Linked DNA regions of Homo sapiens: region 2 is linked to region 1. Evidence: promoter capture Hi-C in human tissues and cell types (Jung and others, 2019). All regions are on one chromosome and are shown on one strand. The core of a region is centred on a gene start or on the middle of the fragment in contact, and the rest is flanking DNA. Distances in the headings are between cores, read along the strand shown.

The links. The method cuts DNA at HindIII sites, captures the fragments that hold promoters and counts their contacts. A contact is called where the count stands out against the background at its distance.
Region 2: a contact is called between a fragment that was not itself captured here and the fragment with the promoter of RASGRP2 in region 1, in 2 of the 25 tissues and cell types used here (adrenal gland and spleen).

The regions. Positions count from the first base shown.
Region 1 is chr11:64,741,616-64,746,049 of GRCh38, reverse strand. It overlaps RASGRP2 (RAS guanyl releasing protein 2), which reads left to right and starts at 1,908. Exons shown (of 17, transcript NM_001098671.2): 1 at 1,908-2,047; 2 at 3,113-3,256; 3 at 3,938-4,040. The coding sequence starts at 3,184. RefSeq lists silencers at 792-991, 1,242-1,351, 2,342-2,391, 2,552-2,601, 2,912-3,241 and 1 more. The HindIII fragment of the contact is 18,641 bases long and covers 1-4,434 here.
Region 2 is chr11:64,211,052-64,215,485 of GRCh38, reverse strand. FERMT3 (FERM domain containing kindlin 3) reads right to left here. Exons shown (of 15, transcript NM_031471.6): 4 at 4,315-4,434; 5 at 4,043-4,211; 6 at 3,739-3,841. Among named protein-coding and RNA genes, the nearest start is that of FERMT3, 6.5 kb to the right of the region's middle. The HindIII fragment of the contact is 4,882 bases long and covers 567-4,434 here.

The DNA of each region.
Region 1 (4,434 bases), core at 659-3,158:
CCCAGGAGGGGGAGGAAGCAGAGGATGCTCGGCGCCTTCTTGGCTCCGCCCTTAGCCCCGCCCTACTGCGGCGTTTAAGGGTCTCTTAGCAGGTGGCTACACTGGATCCAAAGTCGGGGGAGTGTTACGGCAGGGAACACTCGCAGACCGCCTAGTCTAGGCCCTCATTATGGGGAAACTGAGGAACAGAAAGGTCCTGTTTCTAAGTCTTACATTACCAAGACTGAGGTGCGGGGGCGGTCCTGGATCCCCCGCCCCAAGGCTGGGAGGGGCACGCCTCGGAAGGGAGGTTTGGGGTCGGTGGTTTCACAGTGAGTGTGTCTGAAGCCAAATGGTCGGAAACCGTTACCCGCTCTCCTAGGCCCGGCTAGTGGGGACCCCAACCGCCTGCGGCTGCCCCTCCCAAGTTCCTCCCTGTTGGCCAGGCATCCAGGTCTCCAGTCTCCGAGCTGCGGAGAACCCACCGCCACATGCGGCTGCCCCTTTCCATTCGACCCTGTGGGGAGCCAGGCTTCCGGGGCCCCGTTCCTCCTGTGTGAACTGGGCCCCCCGCCCCCATTCCCAGACATCAAGGCCGCGTCTCCAGATAGCCACGATTTCATTCCTCGCTCCCCACAGGTCCCTCTCCCCAAAATATTCCCATCTTGTCCTAGCCCATCCCCCAGACTATCTCAAGGACCAGCTGTCCCCACGCCCCCGACCTCCACTAGGCCTGTGCCACCCGCTGCCTGCAGGAAGACGCCCGGTCCCGGGCCGGGTTAGCCCCATGGGAACGGTTTGTCTCGAAAACAGGAACCCGAGCTGGGGGCTGGGCGGGGCGCCCCTTCCCCACCGCAGTCCGCTTCCTGCCCCTCCCGGCTTCCTCCGCCCGACACCCAGGCAGGGCGGGGGGCACTGGGGCGTCCGCGGTTGGGGGAGGGGCTCTTCGTTTCGGTCCCCCCTCCGCGTCCCGGGCGGCGGGGCCTCCGGTCGCCCGCCCTCGGGGCAGCTAGTGGCGCAGCCCCCCGCCCGCGGCCCTGGCCTCCCGGGCGGCGCGGCAGGGGAGGGGTTAAGCTGCCGCAGGGACCGCCGCGTGCGGGGCGAGAGGGAGCCCCCGGTGGGGGTGGCGCAGCCGGCGGTGCGGAGCTCCGCGCAGGGGCGGAGGGGGGAGGGGGCAGCCTGGCGCGGGGGCGGGGGCGGGGCGGCGGGGAGCGGGGCCGCGGCGTGGAGAGCGGGCGGGAGCCGCAGCCGCAGCGAGGCCGGCGGGCGGGAGCGCACGGAGGTGGGGTCGGCCAGGCCGGTGCGGGCTCCTTGCGGCAGGTCCCAAGAGTGAGTGGGCGAGCGCGGGCGGGGCGCCAGGCGAAGGAGGGCGCGGCCCCCAGCGACTCCCCCCCCGCCCAGGGCGGCGCGGGCGGGCTGGGGGCGGCGAGCGGGTGGGGAGTCTGCGGCCCGGGTCTGGGAGAGGGGGCAGCGGCCACGAGAGCTAAGGCGCGCTGGATCCCCGGAGGGCGGAGGACCTCCACGGTGCACCCAGCTTTTCCCAGCCACCTTCCAGCGGGGCCCTCCCCCGCGTACCCCCATTTGGCAGATGAGAAAATTGAGGCTCCCAGAGGCCAAGTGATTCTCAAGGTCACACGAGGAAGCGGTAGAGCCAGGCGGGGACGGCTCTGGGTGGCTCTTAGGAAAAGTCCGCCTGAGAACTCCGTACAGGAGCTCCCCTGTCCTCCAGCCTGGGGGAGTGAGTATGTGTAGGGCCGGGGTACCTTTCCGTGGGGCAAGGCTCTGCCAAAATCTGGGAGTGAGGGGAGTCAGGGAGCTGGGGCCGCAGGGCGGGCCCTGCACCGCAAATGGGAGGGGGGCGACGGAATGGGCGTGCGCACCCATGGGGGTGTGTGCATGTGTGTGGGAGTGTACATGCGTGGAGAGGCACTGCCTTGCGTGTGTGCACACGTGTGAGGATGTCAGCGCCTGTGTGGCCGCGGGACTCAAGGCTGGCCTGGCTCAAGTGAACAGCACGTCCAGGAGGCGACCTCGTCCGCGGGTTTGCATTCTGGGGTGGACGAGCTGGGTATGTGTGCCTGAGGGTTTCTTCGTGCAGGTGTGCACAGGGTGTGGGTGCCATTGTGTGTGAGAGACGGAGGATGGGAGGCCGGTGCCTGTGGCCCGGTGCGTGTAAGTGCGGACGCCTGCACCTCCACTTAGGTCCCCGGCCTCCGACGAATAACTTGGGTGTGGAGTGTTTGCCCCTGCCAGGGTGCGTATGACCCCGCCAGTGACCGGAGTTGCTAATGGTGTCATGCACCCACCGGCCACCCTTGGCGCGAGCGCCCCCCTCTGGACACCCTGCTCCGTGCGCGCTCACAGTTCGCCTGTGCGGGGCCGGGGCCAGGGTCAGGAGCCGGGGATAGGGAGGAAGAGGGCCTGTGGACAAGCTGAGCCGGGACCCCTGGGACCTTTGCGGAGGTGGCCTGGGAGCGCTCAGTTCCCAGGCTCAGGCTTCCCGCTGACGCCTCCTGGCCGCAGCGGGCTCCCCCCGCCCCAGGAATGTTCCTCTCCCATCCAGTCCGCCTCCCCTAGGGCAGGCCCCCTGGGGGCTGCCGCAGCCCCGCCTCGCCTTCCTGGGCTCCCGGGAGGGGGCGAGGCGGGCAGGACGCCTGGGTTCTCTCCCCCCACCTCCCATACCAGGGAGAAATTCCTCCGAGGTCCCCTCAGGCTCTGGGTTCCCAAAATAACCCTGCGGGGGAAGGGAGGCTGTGGAGGGAGGGAAGCGGGAGGGGCGCAGAGCCGAGCTGCGGGGTGCTGCAGGTGCCTCTGGGGAGAGGGCGCGAGGAGAAGGCGCCCTGCGGGGGGCTGGGCGCCAGCCAGTCCTGGGATCTTGGTTCGTCCCCATCCTCGTGAAGCCCCTCGGCCTTCCCGCGACTCCGAGGGTGGGCCGGAAGCCTCTCTGCGGGTCCGTTTCCCAACTGGCGGGTTGCACCATCCCGGGCCAGACCGTTTAACCCCGGGAGTGGCCGCGGGGGACAACTCCGCCCCTGTCCAGCAGGGGGCGTGCCCGCCCCGCCCCGTTTCTGCCCGCGGGGCCGCTCCCCCGCCCGCGACTCCGCAGACTCCCGCTCTGCCTCTCCCGGGACAGGGGTTCGGTCCGAGCCCGGTGGGAGGCTCCCGGAGCGCAGCCTGGGCCCAGCCCACCCCGCGCCGGCGGCCATGGCAGGCACCCTGGACCTGGACAAGGGCTGCACGGTGGAGGAGCTGCTCCGCGGGTGCATCGAAGCCTTCGGTGAGTGGCTCGGGAGGGCACACGGAGCCTGAGCCTAGCCCCGAGTCTGAGCCCGGGTCCCTGCCTCCCAGGCACAGTCCAGGGCACAGCCCTGACCCGGACCCACCCTGCTCCGCAGCGTGCAGTCTCTTTAACGAAAGCCTCCTCCGCAACGCAGGGCAGAGAGATGCACGCCCTTCAGACAGATGAGGTTTCCCTTCTCTAGCCTTCCCCAGCGGCGGCGAAGGGAGGGCCGGGTCCCGGACTCTGACACTTGAGGGGCATTATCTGTCTCCCGGGGAATCCGGAGGAACTCGCTATCTCCGGCCTGGGAGCTGTTTCCGGCTAATGGGGGGCGGCTTATCTGGTGAAGGGGTGCCCCTTCCCCCCAAGCGCTCAGGAAATGACCTCTGGATTCTTGACCCCGGGGAACCCAGGCTCCTTCCGCCCCAGCTGGTTCCCCTCCGGACGATGGGCGGCTCGGGCGCTCCCCTCCTCCAGTCCTCAGGGCGTGCCTATCTCTCGCCCACCACACCTTTCCTCTCTAATTTGCCTCCTGCTCTCGGAGTCCTGGGCAAGCAGGAGGTGGGCGGGGTCGAGCGTGCACCCGAAGGACCGATACCTGGCGGGTTGCGGGGTGAGGATGAGGCATGGTAGCTGCGGACCCAGCTCAGCCACCTGTCTTTGACCCTTCGGAGTCAGATGACTCCGGGAAGGTGCGGGACCCGCAGCTGGTGCGCATGTTCCTCATGATGCACCCCTGGTACATCCCCTCCTCTCAGCTGGCGGCCAAGCTGCTCCACATATATCCTTCGCCGGCCTTGCCAAGGCCCCCGCCGTCGGAGCCCATGCGCAGCCCCTCTGCCCAGCCCAGGTGCAGAATGAGCCTCGCTCCTAAGTATAGGCCACTCCTTATCCCAGAGCTCAGGCGTCGTCCCAGCCTCCAACTAGGGCCTAGGCTCTGCCCCCTCCTTGCTCCTAGCGACTCGGTCCTGTCCCCAGGCTCTGTCCCCAGCCGAGGCCTTGCCCTCCTTCTCCCTAGAGTCTGGGGCCTGCCCCTGCTTCAGGCTTGGGTGCGCCCCGTGCATCTCTCTCTCCCAGAGCCCAGGCTTTGCTTTCAGCCTCCCTCAGCACCTAGTCCTCCACCCCCACCTCCAACCCCTCCCAGAGCTCAAGCCTCACCCCCAGCATCTCCGCAG
Region 2 (4,434 bases), core at 1,758-4,257, 530 kb after region 1:
GGGGGAAAATATATTCACAATGTATTTATCTGGCAAAGTGCTCATATCCAGAATATATAAAGAACTCCTACAAATCAATAAGAAAAAGACAAACGACTCAATATGACAATTGTCAAAATGTTTGAACAGAAACCTCACAAAGCAGGATATCCAGATGGCTAATAGCCTTATGAAAAGGGACTCAACTTTATTAGTCATCAGGGAAATGTAAATTAAAGCCACATGGAAAGCAGATCAGTGGTGGTCGGGGTGTGGGAGGAGGAATGACTGCAAATGGGCATCGTGCAATCAGTGCTTGTCTGGGGCAGTGGAAATGTTCTAAAACTGGATTGTGGTGATGGTTGCACAACCATACACATTTGTTAAAAATAAGCTGAGCCGGGCGTGGTGGCTCATGCCTGTAATCCCAGCACTTTGGGAGGCCAAGGCAGGTGGATCACCTGAGGTCAGGAGTTCGAGACCAGCTTGGCCAACATGGTGAAATCCCATCTCTACTCAAAATACAAGAAGAAATTAGCTGGGCATGGTGGCGGTGGGCATCTGTAATCCCAGCTATGTGGGAGGCTGAGGCAGGAGAATCGCGTGAACCCAGGAGGCAGAGGTTGCAGTGGGCCGAGATCACGCCATTGCACTCCAGCCTGGGCAACAAGAATGAAACTCCCTCTCAAAAAAAAAAAAACCCTATAAAAGAACACTCAAAAAACAAGAGCTCTTGGAACTTAAAAATATAGTTACAGAAATTAAAAATTCAATAGATATTTTAGAAGATAAGTTGAAGAGGTCTCCGGAGAGTAGGACACAGAAAGAAAAAGAACCGAAAAATAAGAAAGAAAAGTGTAGGCCAGGCATGGTGGCTCACGCCTGTAATCCCAGCATATTGGGAGGTTGAGGCAGGTGGATCGCCTGAGGGCAGGAGTTTGAGACCAGCCTGACCAACATGGTGAAACCCCATCTCTACTAAAAATACAAAAAATTAGCCAGGCGTGGTGGTGGGCGCCTGTAATCCCAGCTACTAGGGAGGCTGAGGCAGGAGAATCGCTTGAATCCGGGAGGCGGAGGTTGCAGTGAGCCAAGATCACACCATTGCACTCTAGCCTGGGCAACAAGAGCGAGACTCCATCTCAACAACAAAAATAGATAAATAAATACAGTTAGCTGGGCATGGTGGCGCGTGCCTGCAGTCCCAGCTACTTGGGAGGCTGAAGCAGGAGATCGCTTGAATCCGCGAGGTGGAGGTTGCAGTGAGCTGAGATTGTGCCATTGTACTCCAGCCTGGGCAACAAGAGCAAAACTCATCTCAAAAAAAAAAAAAAAAAAGGCAATTATGAACTTCAAAACCATTTGAGCAAAAAGGGAAAAAATAATCATAGTTACTCTGTGGCTTAACTAGGAACACTATTTATATGTGTTACTATTTACAGCCATATCACATTGTTTTAACCAAAGACTACAGACACTACTCACTTAGAAAGAGGCAAGGAAATGTGTGTATTGTGTGGGCAGGGAAGAGAATGTAAGACAGTGAAACCTTCTTACAAAGTCAATAGATAATGTGTGAAATGGCAAAACAAAGAAGTGGAAATATGTCATAGAGAAGAAAACACTAGAATAAAAAGGCACAGCTGGCCCGACGCCGTGGCTCACGCCTGTAATCCCAGCACTTTGGGAGGCCAAAGTGGGCAAATCACCTGAGGTCAGGAGTTCGAGACCAGTCTGACCAACATGGAGAAACCCCGTCCATCTCTACTAAAAATACAAAATTAGCTGGGCATGGTGGCTCAACGCCTGTAATCCCAGCTACTCGGGAGGCTGAGGCAGGAGAACTGCTTGAACCCAGGAGGCGGAGGTTGTGATGACCTGAGATCACGTCATTGCACTCCAGCCTGGGCAACAAGAGCAAGACTCCATCTCAAAAAAAAAAAAAAAAAAATTAGGCCAGGCGCAGTGGCTCGCTCCTATAACCCCAGCACTTTGGGAGGCTGAGGCGGGTGGATCACCTGAGGTCAGGAGTTCGAGACCAGCCTGACCAATATGGTGAAACTCCATCTCTACTAAAAAAATACACTCCTATTACCCCAGCAATTTGGGAGGCTGAGGCGGGTGGATCACCTGAGGTCAGGAGTTCGAGACCAGCCTGACCAATATGGTGAAACTCCATCTCTACTAAAAAAATACACTCCTATAACCCCAGCACTTTGGGAGGCTGAGGCAGGTGGATCACCTGAGGTCAGGAGTTCGAGACCAGCCTGACCAATATGGTGAAACTCCATCTCTACTAAAAAAATACAAAAATTAGCCAGGCCCACACCTGTAATCCCAGGAGAATTGCTTGAACCCAGGAGGAAGAGGTTGCAGTGAGCCGAGATTGCACCACTGCACTCTAGCTTGGGCAACAGAGCAAGACTCCATGTCAAAAAAAAAAAAAAAATTAGCCAGGTATAGTACACGCCTATCGTCCCAGCTACTTGGGGAGCTGAGGCTTAAGGATCACATGACCCTGGGAGGTCCAGGCTGCAGTTAGCCGGGATAACACTACTGCCCTCCAGTCTGGACAACAGAGCAAGACTGTGTCTCAAAAAATAAAAATAAATAAATATATAAATAAATAAAGCTTAGGAGAGAGACATCTGAGCTGGAGATGATCAGCTGGGAGAGAGTGTGGAGATGGTATTGAAATCCACAAGACTGGAGATGACTGAGAGAAGGAGAGGAGAGAGCAGAGGCCCAGAGCAGAGCCTGGGGCAGAGCCTGGGGCTCACCAACACCGAGAGGCCATGGAGAGGAGGAGGGAACATCACAGAGCCTGGCAGAGTGGCTTGGGGAGAGGCCACCCCCCAAGCAAGTGTACAGGAGGCTTCAGGAGGAAGATATTCTGGAGGAGTGGTCGGGGTGGTGTCTATGCTGCAAGTAAGTGGTCAAGTAAGAAGCGGGTGGGACATGGCCAGGGAACAGATAGCCTGGAGACGTGGCCACCTCAGCAGGTGCACTTCTCACGTGTGGATGGTGTCAAAATATATAGAATAGCCATGGCCAAGGAGTGAGAGGGAGTCGAACAGCACCCAGAGAAAGCTTGGAAGCAAGAAGTGGGATTCTGCGGAGCAAGCGTTCAGACAACTACGATGTTTTGCAGAGAAAGGGGGCAGAGAGGTGGGGCCTACAGGTAGAAAGAGCAACCTGTGGACTTCTGGGAAGTTTTTGAGATGTGCGCGAAGCACATTGCATGGAGCATTTTGCCTGGAGCATGTTGGTTGCCAATGGAGGAAGGGAGGAAGAGTGAACAGGGCACAGAGGGGCCACCCTGCAAAGCTTCCTTCCTCACCCACCCCCAGGTCCTGCAGTCCCTAATGGTGCCCCCTCCAGGAAGCCTTCCCAGAGCTCCCAGGCTTGGGCCTCTCCCACCTGAGCCCCAGACTTCTCAGGGGCACCCACACACACACTGTCTATGAGGATCTGTGGGTCTTAGCTTCCTCCCTGACAGCTCCCTGGGAAACAGGCACTGAGACTTACTGGTCTTCATCCGCTTCAGCATCTGCCCGGGGCCCAGGACCTGGCCTGATGCTGAGGTGAGTAGATGAGTTTCAGTGGGTGTTTGTGGGGTCAGTAAACAAAGGTGTGGATGGACAAACGGGCAGACGGACAGGCCACTACAAGTCACTAACATCCCAGAGCCCATACCCCAGGCCCTAGGTCTCCACATCTCATGGACCTGAGGCCCGCTTTCTCCCTGCCCCGACCCACCTTGGGATCCAAATCGAAGAAGCTGTAGTACTTGAAGCGCAGCCAGAGTGCGTCCCCGGCCTTGATGCCCTGCTGCATGAGACACCGCGACGAGTCCAGCCACCTGGGCCGCGGCAGAAGCAGCAGTCAGGGCTGCGCCAGGTACGGCCGTGGGGTGGGGAGGGGGGCTGGGCTGGGGGGACAAGCACACACAGAGAAAAGGCCTGGAAACGAAGTGTGGATCTGGGGTGGGCACAGACACGGGACAGGGGGTGGATCCTGGGTGGGGGAGCCCTGACACAGGGGGCGTGGCTCCTGGGTGCACCTGCTGTGGAGCTGGGTCTTGTCTGACAGGGAGCTGGGCCGTGGCAGACGCTGGAGCAGGAGGGGGTCGGGTGGCGGCTGGGGCCGGCTCAGCATGTGGTAGCAGGCCTCAGTCTGGGCGCTGTCCGAGAAGTGAGCTGGCATCCCCCGGAACAGTGCAGGTGCCACGCCTGGAGTGCAGGTTGGGAGTCAACCAGGCCTGTCCCCCAGGGCTGGGACTCACGGGCCGGCCCCTGCCCCCAACCCCCCAGGCCCACCCCCACTTGCACTCACCCCCAGCCAAGACAACCTTGCTCAAGTCATAGAGCTCTTCCTCTGGCTCCTTCTCTTTCTTCTTCTTCTCCTTCTTCTCAGGAGCCCGGAGCAGGGACAGCTCCTCGGGGTGCCGGATGC